2 separate regions of the Homo sapiens genome follow, and region 2 is linked to region 1. The links are contacts of gene promoters, found by promoter capture Hi-C in human tissues and cell types (Jung and others, 2019). All regions are on one chromosome and are shown on one strand. Each heading gives the region's core, a stretch centred on a gene start or on the middle of the fragment in contact. The rest is flanking DNA. Distances are from core to core; before and after follow the strand shown.

What was found. Contacts are between HindIII fragments. The study calls those that stand out against the background at their distance.
Region 2: a fragment that was not itself captured here is called in contact with the fragment with the promoter of CAPN11 in region 1 in 2 of the 25 tissues and cell types used here (bladder and spleen).

What each region holds. Positions count from the first base shown.
Region 1 is chr6:44,156,237-44,163,366 of GRCh38, forward strand. CAPN11 (calpain 11) reads left to right here and starts at 2,584. Exons shown (of 23, transcript NM_007058.4): 1 at 2,584-2,628. The coding sequence starts at 2,613. LOC107986599 (a long non-coding RNA gene) reads right to left here and starts at 2,367. Exons shown (of 3, transcript XR_002956350.2): 1 at 2,349-2,367. RefSeq lists an enhancer at 3,761-3,930 and a silencer at 5,314-5,403. The HindIII fragment of the contact is 19,752 bases long and covers 1-7,130 here.
Region 2 is chr6:43,659,307-43,665,797 of GRCh38, forward strand. The region is part of intron 4 of RSPH9 (radial spoke head component 9); the gene reads left to right. Among named protein-coding and RNA genes, the nearest start is that of RSPH9, 18 kb to the left of the region's middle. RefSeq lists an enhancer at 2,720-2,909. The HindIII fragment of the contact is 8,446 bases long and covers 1-6,491 here.

The sequences.
Region 1 (7,130 bases), core at 1,334-3,833:
GCACTCCAGCCTGGGCGACAGGGCAAGACCCTGTCTCAAAAAAAAACAAAAAAAAATCACCTCGAAAAAAGGTCCTGTGACTGCTGTAGCCCACCCTGCAAAGGCCCACAGAGCCATGTGGTGCACACCCACACACATGCACACACAGCATGTACTGCATGTACTGTAGGAGGCCTGCATTCCAGTCCTTATTCTGTCACTAAATCACTTTGCAACCCTGAAGAAAAGGAAGAAAAAGGAACTCTTAGAGGGAAGAAAAGAGACCTCAGAGGAGGAGGAGAACCAGGTTCCACAAAAGTCAACAGGAACCACCAACAGCAGGAACAGCAAACACAGCAAGCCTGATAAAGATTGCCCAGGCGCCAGCAAGGAGCAGGAGCAAAGAGCGCCCAAGGTCCAGCCCCAGGCTGCAGGGAGCTGCGGCAAACACAGCTTGGAGGGTCAGTGTTTATGGGCGGGCTGTGGGTGGAGGATGGGCCAGTGACAGTGGAGGTGAAAGTTGAGGCCTTGGTCCTGGCCTCAGCCTGCATATGTATGTCAGATCTGCAGTTGTGAAACATGAGCTCCCAGGTAGAGTCCCCAAAGTCTTGGGGCCAAGGGAGTGCCTGCTGGTGGTTGGACAAATATTGGCATGGCTTTGAAAGGAGCACCTTGGTTGTGTGAAGGCTTCTCGGTGCTCCCGAAGCCTGTTTTCCGTATGGATGGGCAGGCACACCACCGCCATTTGCCTGGCAAGCCCCCTTGTCTGCAAAGCATGGCCTGGACAGACCTCAGCCCCCACCTCTGGTTAGCCGAGACCCTCTCATTCCTCATCTGCCCAGCATGCCTTCCCTTTCCTGCAGGGCCTGAAGTTCAAAGCCAGGTTCCAGCATTTCCAAATGTGAAACTCCAGATAATGCCCAAGCAGCACACTGAGCAAGAGTCCTGAGGACAGCCCTCCCCCAGGGTGGGAGGCTGTAATAGAGAGGAACACCCGTGCCTGCCTGCACCCTACCCCTGGCACCTCGTCACAGAGTTCATGTCCAGGCAGATCACATTAGAGGCATCCAAGAGGTGCAATAGTGGAATCAGGAGTGGGCAGGGGAGACCACAGGATCCCCAAAGACCACTTCCTCCTTTCACAGCTGGGGGCAGCAGAAGATACGGATAAGAGCTAAAGTTATGGCCGGGCACGGTGGCTTATGCCTATAATCCTAGCGCTTTGGGAGGCCGAAGCGAGTGATCACCTGAGGTCAGGAGTTCGAGACCAGCCTGCCCAACATGGCGAAACCCCGTCTCTACTAAAAATACAAAAATTAGCTGGGCATGGTGGTGGGCACCTGTAATCCCAGCTACTTGAGAGGCTGAGGCAGGAGAATCGCTTGAACCCGGGGGGCAGAGGTTGCAGTGAGCTGAGATTGCACCACTTCACTCCAGCCTGGGCAAAAGAGCGAGACTCCATCTCAAAAAAAAAAAAAAAAAAAAAAATCTGAAGTTATTAGTTTAAATCCTGGCTCGACCGCTTAACAGCTGTGTGACCCTGGGCAAGTTGCATCATACCTCTAGACCTCACTTTCCTCATCTATAAAATGGGAATAGCAATGTCATGGCCTCTGGCTGTTTTAAGGATTAAATAAGTAGGAAGTTCTTAGCCCAGTGTTTGGCACATAATAACAAACCATAATTAATATTCTCGTAGATGAGGAGATTGAGTCCCAGAAAGGAGAAAGGGGGAGGGCTCGCCCAAGGTCAGCTCCTGTTTCAGAGCTTGGAACAAGGTTCTCTGATCCCATTGGGTGCTCTCACACCTGTTCTGTGCCTGATTAGCACCAGGCAGGGCTGAGGGGCACTGGGATGACCTTGACAGTCCCTGTCCTCAGCCATCATACACTCCAGAGAAGACTGCACTCTGGAGCAGAGTTCTTAGCTCAAAGCATTCCCACTTTCCAGTGCAGAGGCAGGACATGTGGTCAGACCAGTGGCCTAACCTTGCCAGACTGGGGCTAGGCAAGGAGAGTGTTGCAGGTGGAATCGTGTCCCCCAAAAAGGCATGTTGAAGTCCTGGCCCCCAGTACTTCAGAATGTGACCTCATTTGGAAACAGGGTGGTTGCAGATGTAATTCGTTCAATTAAGATGAGGTCATACTGAAATGCATGGGACCCTAGCCCCATATGACTGGTGTCCTTATAAGAAGAAGAGACACAGAGGAGGGTGCCATGTGAAGACAGCAACACAGGAAAAATGCCATGTCAGTGAGAAAGGGGCTTTTGGGAATGAGAAGGCTTTCTGGATGTAAAGGTCAGGTTGGTGTGTCAGGGACAACCCCTTCCTGGAAACCTTGGGCTGAAAAAAAGGGACTGGGACCTACCCTGATGGGATGACCGTGATACAGTGAGGACAGCCAGGCTGGTGGAGGCTGTGCAAGGCAGGGGTGCTGGGTCATCTGTCCCTAAAGCGGGTAGCCCTCAGCTGGGTAAGGGGCTGGGTTACTGAGAAGGAGAAAAGGGAAGGCAGCTGTTAAACCGGCTGCTGACCTAGGAATCCCACTGCAATGAGAGAGTTCTGGGGGGAGGGTCTCTTCTCCCCCTCCCACCAGAACCTTCAACTGTCAAGCACCGAGCTAGCCACCAGCATGCTGTACTCCCCAGGTAGGCACTCATGGGGCCTTGCCCCACTCCTGTACCTCCTGCAGGCTAGAGCCTCCCCCCAGGGGAGGAGCTGTGTCCCGCATCAGACTGGGTGCCCCTTGAGGGTACAGAGAGTGACTCTTCCATCAGACTGGATGCCCCTTGAGGGTACAGAGAGTGACTCTTCCATCAGACTGGATGCTCCCTAAGGACAGGACCTGGGCCTCGTTCTCAGACTGTTTGGGGAAGGATAGGCCACTGGTGGTCAGACTGGGTGGTAGGCCGGGCAGGAACTCTTTCTCCTCTCCACTGACAGTTGGAGTTGGGGAGAGGAGAGGGGCCGGCCATCCCACTGTCATGGCTGCTGGGGAAAAGGGTTTGTGTGAAAAAGCCCACGTAGAGAAGAAAACTTTAGGGAACAGAGAGAACCTCTCCTAAGCCTAGAAAAGCAGGTCCCTCAGCCCAGGAAGATGAGATCCTCAGGGTGGCAGGGGCAGGACTACCTGAGGCAAGCCTGGGACCAGACTCCAGGAGATGGGGGAGAGTGGGCTGGGGGGAAGGGGAGGGCTGGGCAGAACTGAGTTGTTCCTGTGGGGCTAGGGTGCACAGAGGGCAGCCAGCCTTGGCCAGCAGAAGGTCAGCCCTGTACCTCACCCTCAGCCTGGGGCACCGTGAGACCATGGGCCCCTAGACCCAGCCTCCCAGCTTCTCAGGCCCTCCCTGTTTACCTGACCCTAGGAAGTTTAGGCCTAGCTGGTGACCCCAAACCCAGTCCTTGTTCTTCAGAAGTGCCCTGAGCCCAGGAGTTCAAGACCAGCCTGGTCAGCATAGCAAGACCTCATCTCAAAATATAATTTATTTATTTATTATTATTACTTATTAGTATTTATTTTTTTTTAAAGTTCCCTGACACAACATCTTAGTTTTTTCCCAGTGCCGGAAATCAAACTGTCCTTAAATCTATAGTCCCCTAATAACAATGTATTGCATTTAGAAAATCACTGAGAGAGGCCAGGCACAGTGGTTCACGCCTGTAATCCTAGCACTCTGGGAGGCCAAGGCAGGTGGATCATCTGAGGTCAGGAGTTCGAGACCAGCCTGGCCAACATAGTGAAACCGTGTCTCTACTAAAATACAAAAATTAGCCATGCGTGGTGGCGGGCGCCTGTAATCCCAGCTACTCGGGAGGCTGAGGCAGGAGAATCTCTTGAACCCAGCAAGTGGAGGTTGCAGTGAGCCGAGATCGTGCCACCGCACCCCAAGCCTGGGCGACACAGCGAGACTCCATCTCAAAAAAAAAAGAAAATCACTGACAGTAGATTTTAAGTGTTCTCACCACAAACAAATAACAAGTATGTGCAGTAATGCAGATATTAATTAGCTCAACTGAGCCATTCCACAGTGAATACATATTTCAAAACACCATGTCGTATACAACAGATATATACTTTTTTTGTCAATAAAATAAAACTGATTTAGTTAAAAACGATCTGGCCGGGCGCAGTGGCTCACGCCTGTAATCCCAGCACTTTGGGAGGCCGTGGCGGGCAGATCACGAAGTCAGGAGATCGGGACCATCTTGGCTAACGCGGTGAAACCCTGTCTCTACTAAAAATACAAAAAATAAGCCAGGCGTGGTGGCGGGCGCCTGTAGTCCCAGCTACTCGGGAGGCTGAGGCAGGAGAATAGCGTGAACCCAGAAGGTGGAGCTTGCAGTGAGCCAAGATCGCTCCACTGCACTCCAGCCTGGGCGACAGAGTGAGACTCCGCCTCAAAAAAAACCTCAAAAAACAACAACAACAACAACAACAAAATGATCTGTAGGTTCTCAGTCTGATGGAGGAGACAGGATGTGCAGCTGCAGCAGAAAGCTTCCTGTCCATTCATGCCTTTTAACATGCAGCAGCCCCTGCTTTCCACGCAGTTTCAGTTACCCGCTGTCAACTGCAGTCTGAAAACATCAGGATATTTTGAGACAGAGAGACCACATTCACATTACTGTTATTGTATTGTTGTATTTGTTATATTTTATTACTTATTATGGTTAACTGCTTACTGTGCCTAATTTATAAACTAAACTTTATCATAGGTATGTACATAAAGGAAAGACATAGTATTGATATATACAGGGTTTGGTACCACCCGCAGTTTCAGGTGTCCACTGGGGGTGTTGGAACGTACCCCTAGGGTTAAGGGGAGCTACTGTGTTGCTCTGGCCATCTGTCTGTGCTTCCCACAGGCAGCCTTGGTCTGTCTGTCTCAGCCTTCTCACGCTCCTAGCCCATGTGACAGCTTGGATCTTTTGCCCTCTCTAAGGGGATATTTTCTTTTGGGTTTTTTTTTTTTTTGGTGTTTTTGTTTGTTTGTTTGTTTTGAGGTGGAGTCTCACTCTATTGCCCAGGCTGGAGTGCAGTGGCCCAACCTTGGCTCACTGCAACCTCCACCTCCCGGGTTCAAGCGATTCTCCTGCCTCAGCCTCCTGAATAGCTGGGACTACAGGCATGTGCTACCACACCCAACTCATTTTTGTGTTCTTAGTAGAGACGGGGTTTCACCATGTTGGCCAGGCGGGTCTTGAACTCCTGACTTCAGGTGATCCGCCCACCTCAGCCTCTCAAAGTGCTGGGATTACAGGCGTGAGCCACAGTGCCCAACTTAAAGACATTTTCCATGACAACTGTGGTGGTGTGGATAGGTGTGTCAGTCCTTCCTGCAAGTCAGAGCTGAGTAATGACCTCACACCCTGGGGACTGGGTATGCAGCTTCGAAGCAGGGTTTGGGGGCCAGACAGTGAGAAATGACTTGTTGGGCTGGATGGTGACTAGGGGACAGAGGGCTCTGGGGAAATGAGACAAGGGAGTTAAGATGGAACCTGAATTGCCTTGGCCTGCCCTCTGATGTTCTTTCAGTCTTCTCAAACAACAGCATCTTCCCTGGTCCTTCCAGGCCCCCAGGAGAGCTCAACACCCTCAGTCCTCGGAGCAGCCAGGGTAGAGGCTGCCTGGAGTGACTGCACGGTGCAAGGGCATGGAGTGGTTTGCCTTATCGTGTGAATGACCTTAGATGATTCGCTCAACCCAGGTTTGTCAACCCCAGCTCTCTTGACATTTTGAACTGGAAAATTCTTTATTGTGGAGACTTTCCTCTACACTGAGGGGCGCCCAGCAGCATCCCTGGCCTCTACTTACTAGATGCCAGTAGCTCCCCTGAGACCTGCCCCAGTTATGACAACCAACACTGCCTCTAGACGTTGCCACCTGTTCCCTGGGGGCCGTAATCACCCCGGGTTGAGAACTTCTGACTCAATCTCTCTGTGGAGGCCCTGGCTTCCACCCAGCTCAGATGGGAATAGTCATCCTGATCCGCCAGCTTCACAGATAGGGATCAGGGGCTGAAACAGAAGGTGTTCAGCTCTCCCCTCTCAGGACTGCTTTCCACCCTTCCCTCGGAACCCTCTTCATCTGAAAGGGGCTCCACTGTTTAACCCCGCCCCCGCAGCCCCCCTCACAGTCTCTTTGAATAAAGACACACACACACACACACACACACACACACACACACACACACCTGTAATCATAGCCCGAGGGGGTGAGGGAGCTTCCATTACCATTTCTAAGATAATCCCAGAGGGCTTGGGTTAGAAGAGACAGGGTTTGAGGAAAATGGAGGGAGAAAAGAGCGAGGAGAACTCCCAGACTCTGGCTCTACCCACCCTCTTCCCTGCTTCCCAGCCCTGATGCTTCCAGAACCAGGACGTCAAAGTGCACCCCACCCTCAGGGGAATGGGATGTGCTTAGAATAGGGAAAGGGGGATAGTCATTCCCCCACAGAACCTCCCTGATGATCCCATCAACCTGGTGGCCCCTTTTCATGGCACTTTCTCCTGTCTTTGCGGCCCATGGAGCTGAACCTGGGGGAGGAATCGCATGGGAGGGTCTTCTCCACGCTCCATGTTGGGGGTGCATTCACTTTGACCCCTCAGTACCAGCCCAGAATAAATTCTCCATAAAACATGCCTAACACGAGTTAGGGTTTGCTCTCAGGAGCTCAAACCAGTGGCAAAGACAGACAAGCACACACATGACTCCAATATTGGAGTAATATCACTAGTATCATTAAATCCTATGATGGAGGGACACATATGTGACACAGAGCATGGGCCATGTGATCCTAGAAGGAGCTCAACAAATACCAGTTGACCAACTAGGTCAGTGGGGAGAAGGTGAGTAACGTTTTCTGAGCACCTGCTAAACTCCAGTCTTTTTCACACGTTGCATTCTTCAATCCTGAAACACCCTCGCAGGTAGAATGCAGCAGCCTCTATACACAGGTGAGGAAACCAAGGCTCAGGGAGGTCAAACAACTTGCCCAAGGTCACACAGCTAATTCTCTGGCTCCAGTGCAGCCCAGGGCATTAGCTCTGCTAAAAAGGGACAAGCCACCCCTTTTCCAACACCTTTATCCATCCTCAACACCCCCTGTCAGCTGCTCCACACAGGGGAAGTGACTTCACAAAGACCACA
Region 2 (6,491 bases), core at 1,387-3,886, 500 kb before region 1:
CCACCTTCTGGGTTCAAGCAATTATCCTGCCTCAGCTTACTGAATAGCTGGGATTACAAGCACCGGCCACCATGCCCGGCTTTTTTTTTTTTTTGAGACGGAGTCTCGCTCTGTCGCCCAGGCTGGAGTGCAGTGGTGCGATCTCGGCTCACTGCAAGCTCCGCCTCCCGGGTTCACGCCATTCTCCTGCCTCAGCCTCCTGAGTATCTGGGACTACAGGCGCCCGCCGCCACGGCTGGCTAATTTTTTGTATTTTTAATAGAGTTGGGGTTTCACTGTGTTAGCCAGGGTGGTCTCAATCGCCTGACCTCGTGATCCGCCTGCCTCAGCCTCCCAAAGTGCTGGGATTACAGGCGTGAGCCACCCCGCCCGGCCCATGTTCGGCTAATTTTTGTATTTCTACTTTTTACTTTTATTTTTATTTATTATTATTATTATTTTTTGAAATGGAGTCTCACTCTATCGCCCAGGCTGGAGTGCAAGTGATGTCATCTCGGCTCACTGCAAGCTCCGCCTCCCGGGTTCACGCCATTCTCCTGCCTCAGCCTCCTGAGTAGCTGGGATTACAGGTGCCTGCCACCATGCCTGGCTAATTTTAAAAATATTTTTAGTAGAGACAGGGTTTCACCAAGTTGTCCAGGCTGCTCTTGAACTCATGACCTCAGGTGATCTGCCCGCCTTGGCCTCCCAAAGTGTTGGATTACAGGCGTGAGCCACCATGCCCAGCCTGGCCTTTTTTTTTTTTTTTTTTTTTTGAGACAGAGTCTTGCTCTTTTGCTCAGGCTGGAGTGCAGTGGTGTGATCTCAGCTCACTGCAACCCCTGCCTCCTGGGTTCAAGTGATTTTCCTGCCTCAGCCTCCTAAGTAGCTGGATTACAGGCATGCGCCACGATGCCTGGCTATTTTTTGTATTTTCAGTAGAGATGAGTTCACCATGTTGGCCAGGCTGATCTTGAACTCCTGACCTCAAGTGATCTGCCCACCTCAGCCTCCCAAAATGTTGCGATTACAGGTGTGAGGCACTGTGATTGGCCCTCCACTGACGTCTTGAACCTGTCAATATCATCCATGAGGGTTGGAATCAACTTCTCCCAAACTCCTGTTGATGTTGACATTTTGACCTCCTCCCATGAGTCATGCATATTCTTTTTTATTTATTTATTTATTTATTTTTTGAGACAGAGTCTTGCTCTGTCACACAGGCTGGAGTACAGTGGCATGATCTCAGCTCACTGCAACCTCCACCTCCCGTGTTCAAGTGATTCTTCTGCCTCAGCCTCCCGAGTAGCTGGGACTACAGGCGCCCATCACCACACCCAGCTAATTTTTTGTATTTTTAGTAGAGATGGGGTTTTACCGTGTTAGCCAGGGTAGTCTCAATCTCCTGACCTAGTGATCTGCCAGTCTCGGCCTCCGAAAGTGCTGGGATTATAGGTGTGAACCACCGCACCTGGCCAAGTCATGAATATTCTTAATGTCATCTAAAATGATGAATGTTTTCCAAAATGTTTTAAATTTACTTTGCCCAGATCCATCAGAGGAATCATTATCTATGGCAGTTATAGCTTTATGAAATGTCTTTTAAAAATAAGACTTGAAAAGTGAAGTCACTCCTTGATCCATGGCTGCAGGATGGATGTTGTGTTAGCAGGCAGGAAAACAACATTAATCTCGTTGTACATCTCCATCAGGGCTCTTGTACATCTCCATCAGAGCACAACATTAATCTCGTTGTACATCTCAATCAGGTGCATTGTCAATGAGCAGTAGTAATTTGAAAGCCATCCTTTTCTCTGAGCAGTAGGTCTCAAAAGTGGGCTTAAAGTATTCAGTAAACCATGCTATAAACAGACATGCTGTCATCCAGGGTTTGTTGTTCCATCTATAGAGCACAGGCAGAGTAGATTTAGCATAATTCTTAAGGGCCCTAGGATTTCCAAAATGGTAAATAAGCATTGGCTTCAACTTAAAGTCACCAGCTGTATGAGCCCCTAACAAGAGAGTCAGCCTGTTCTTTGAAGCTTTAATGCCAGGCATTGACTTCTCTTTAGCTATGAAAGTCCTAGATGTTTGGCTGGGTGCGGTGGCTCACGCCTGTCATCTCAACACTTTGGGAGGCCGAGGTGGGCGGATCACCTGAGGTCAGGAGTTTGAGAGCAGCCTGGCCAATGTGGTGAAACCCCATCTCTACTAAAAATACAAAAATTAGCCGGGCATGGTGGCCTGCACCTGTAATCCCAGCTATTCGGGAGGCTGAGGCAGGAGAATTGCTTGAACCCGGGAGGCAGAGGTTGCAGTGAGCCAAGACTGTGCCAATGTACTCCAGCCTGGGTGACAGAGCGAGACTCTGTCTCAAAAAAAAAAAAAAAAAAAAAGAGGAAATCCTAGATGGCATATTCTTCCAAGAGAAGGCTGTTTCATCTCCATTAAAAATCTATTGTTTAGTGTAGCCGCCTTAATCAGTGATCTTAGCCAGGTCTTCTGGTTAACTTGCTGCAGCTTGTACATTAGCATTTGCTGCTCCACTTTGTACTTTTATGTGACAGGGACAGCTTCTTGCCTTAAATCTCATGAACTAACATTGATTGATTGACTGACTGAGACAGAGTCTCACTCTGTTGCACAGGCCAGAGTGCAACAGCGTGATCATGCTTCACTGTAGCCTCGACTTCCCAGGCTCAAGTGATCTTCCCACCTCTGCCTCCTGAGTAGTTGGGACTACAGGTGTGTGCCACCATGCCTGGCTTATTTCTTGTAGACACAGGGTCTCCCTATGTTGCCCAGGCTGGCCCCAACCCCTGGGCTCAAGCCATCCTCCTGCCTGAGTCTCCCAAAGTGCTAGGATTACAGGCATGAGCAACCATGCCCAGTCAATGAACTAACCTTTGTTAGCTTCCAACATTTCTTCTGTAGCTTCCTCACCTCTCAGCCTTCATAGAATTGAAGAGAGTTAAGGCCTTGCTCTGTATTAGGCTGTGGCTTAAGAGAAGGTTGTGGCCGGTTTGATTTCCTATCTAGACCACTCAAACTTTCTACATATCAGCAAGAAGGCTGTTTCACTTTCTTTTTTTTTTTTTTGAGACGGAGTCTTGCTCTGTCGCCCAGGCTGGAGTGCAGTGGTGCAATCTCGGCTCACTGCAAGCTCTGCCTCCCAGGTTCACGCCATTCTCCTGCCTCAGTCTCCTGAGTAGCTGGGACTATAGGCGCCCGCCACCACGCCCAGCTAATTTTTTGTATTTTTTAGTAGAGACGGGGTTTCACCATGTTAGCCAGGATGGTCTCGATCTCCTGACCTTGTGATCCACCTGCCTCGGCCTCCCAAAGCGCTGGGATTACAGGCGTGAGCCACCACGCCTGGCCGGCTGTTTCACTTTCTTATCATTTGTATGTTCACTGGAGTTGCACTTTTAATTTCCTTCAAGGACTTTTATTTGCATTCACAGCTTAGCTGTTTGGTATAAGAGGCCTATCTTTCAGCCTATCTCAATTTTTTTTATTTTTGGTTTTAGAGACAGGGTCTTGCTTCATCACCCAGACTGGAGTGCAGTGGCATGATCATAACTCATTGTAACTTTGAACTCCTGGGCTCAAGCAATCCTCCTGCCTCAACCTCTTGAGGAGTGCAACAGCACACGCAATAGGTGTGTGCACCATACCTGGCATTTTTTTTTTGTAGGGATGGGGTCTCGCTGTGTTGCTCGGGCTGGTTTCAAACTCCTGCACTCAAACAGTCCTCCTGCCTCAGCCTCCTAAAGTGCTGGGATTACAGGGATGAACCACCATGCCTGGCTCTATCTCAGCTTCTGACATGCCTTCCTTACTAAACTTAGTCATTTCTAGCTTTTGATTTAAAGTGAGAGGCGTGAGATTCTTCCTTTCACTTAACACTTAGAGGCTATTGTAGAGTTATTTTATTTTTTATTTTTTTTTGAGACAGAGTCTCACTGTGTTGCCCAGGCTGGAGTGCAATGGCATGATCTCAGCTCATTACAACCTCCGCCTCCTGGGTTCAAGCGATTCTTCTGCCTCACCCTCCTGAGTAGCCGGGATTATAGGCACATGCCACCATGCCCAGCTAATTTTTGTATTTTTAGTAGAGACAGGGTTTCACCATGTTGGCCAGGCTGGTCTCAAACTCCTGACCTCAGATGATCCACCTCCCTCAGCCTCCCAGAGTACTGGGATTGCAGGAAAGAACCAATGCGCCCAGCCTCTGTAGAGTTATTAATTGGCCTAATTTCATGATTGTTGTGTCTCAGGGAATAGGGTGGCCTGAGGAGAGGGAGAGGGCTGGGAGAAGTCAGAAGACACACATTTATCAATTAAGTTTGCCATCTTAAATGGATGTAGTTCGTGGTGCCCCAAAACAATATCATAGTAACATCAAAGATCACTGATCACAGAACACCATAACACATATAATAATAATAACAAAAAAAAGGGCTGAGTGCGGTGACTCATGCCTGTAATTCCAGCACTTTGGGAGGCCGAGGTGGGCGGATCACTAAAGGCCAGGAGTTTGAGACCAGTCTGGCCAACATAGTGAAACCCCATCTATACTAAAAATACAAAAATTAGCCAGGTGTAGTGTGCACACCTGTAGTCCCAGCTACTCAGGAGGCTGAGACACGAGAATCACTTGAACCTTGGAGGCAGAGGTGGCAGTGAGCCGAGATCACGCCACTGCACTCCAGCCTGGGTGACAGAATGAGAATGTCTCGAAAAAAAAAAAAAAAGAGTTTGAAAAATTGTGAAAACTACCAAAATGTGACACAGAGATACAAAGTGAGCATATGCTGTTGGAAAAATGGCACTGATATACTGGCTTTACACATGCAAACCTTCAATTTATAAAAACTGCAGTGTTTGTGAAGAGCAATATATCAAAGTAAACCTGTGATGATGATGATGATGATGATGATTATTTTGAGACAGAGTTTATTTATTTGAGACGGAGTTTCTCGCCCAGGCTGGAGTGCAGTGGCATGATCTCAGCTCACTGCAGCCTCTGCCTCCCGGGTTTGAGTGATTCTACTGTCTCAGCCTCCTGAGTAGCTGGGACTACAGGCGTGAGCCACTGCACCTGGCCTTATTATTAATTTTTTTAGTGGCAGAAAGTCCTTAGAGATGAGTTGGGGCAGGCCTAGGAGGGCCTAGAAGGCCAAGGCAGTAGAAGCTGCTGGTGGCTTGTGAGCAGGTCTGTGACAATAAGGCAGTGGTACACAGGTGGAGCGAGACAGGGCAAGGCAAACCAGGAATCATGAGGCCATTTCAGGGCTACTGCAGTGCCCCAGGGGCCAGGCAATGGTTCTGAGTGGGTAGGAGCTGCCACCAAGGAGTGGCCATTTGGGCTTCCATCATACAGGAACATCTGAGTCAAGCTACTCTGAGCAGGGCCAGTGCTGTAGTGACAGAGAGGAGGGTCTCCGGACAAGTAGGGGGATATGAAGAGGGTCTATAGGGGTTGGGGCATTTCTCGCCCATCAGACATACTTCTCAGACTCCCCTCATCTCCTCCATCTCTGCTCCCAGACTTGTCAGGAGGCTGAGGGTGCTGTACGTCCCTCGTTGACAAAGGGAGCCTGGAACGGCGGTGGTGATGGAACCTCAGAGCCAGGGGCTGAGGGGTGGGCCTACAGAAGTCCTCTTCATTCCCCTAATCTGAGGGCAGCAGCCCTGTCCCCTGATTCAGGGTGTGTCTGGCAAGCCCTTTGCAGCCTTCTTACCTGCAGCTGGATGCTCCAGAATCAGAAGATGAAACTCTCCTTTGTGCTGGGTGAGAGGGGCTGGTGCAGTAGTGCTGCTTTGCCCGTGGAGCCTCATCCACTGTGCAGCAAGAGGGGTGAAGAGGGTGATAGAGCTTCTGCAGCCAAGACCAAAGCCAGCTAGATGGGGTGGGGCCCAGCAAAGTCTTCCTAAGGGAACACCATCAGCCCTATCTGCCCTCTGCTGTCTCGGGTAAGGTGGACCCTGGAGGCAGCTGTCTTTCCTTGCAACAGGAGAAGTAAAATGTGGAGCTTTGGAGTCTTCCTAAAGGCTGCTGGGGTTGGGGCTGGGCAAGGTGGCCCATGCCTATAATTCCAGTGCTTTGGGAGGCCAAGGTGGCAGAATCGCTTGAGCTTAGGAGTTTGAGGTTACTTGTGATTGGCCACCATTGCATTCCAGCCTGGTGAGCCACTCTGATGTGTCCAGTTGGCAAGTGAATTCATCAGGCCTATGGGAGGTGTGGCATCTGGGCCTGGCAGGTGGGTGAGCTGCAGTGACCCAAGGCCCTAGGCATCCTGCCCTGATGGTGACCTCAGGGCTGCAGGATCAGCTGCTGGCTTCACTTCCCAGTCCACCCCACCATGTTGCTTTATGAGCTGGAACCTTGGAAGCTGAGGACTCCTGGCATTTCCTGGGCATGTGGGCCTCAGGGGAGGGATGCTCCTGGCCTTACCTTGGGAAACCTCCCCATACTCTTCAGGTCCTTCCTCCCAGAGCCACTACTA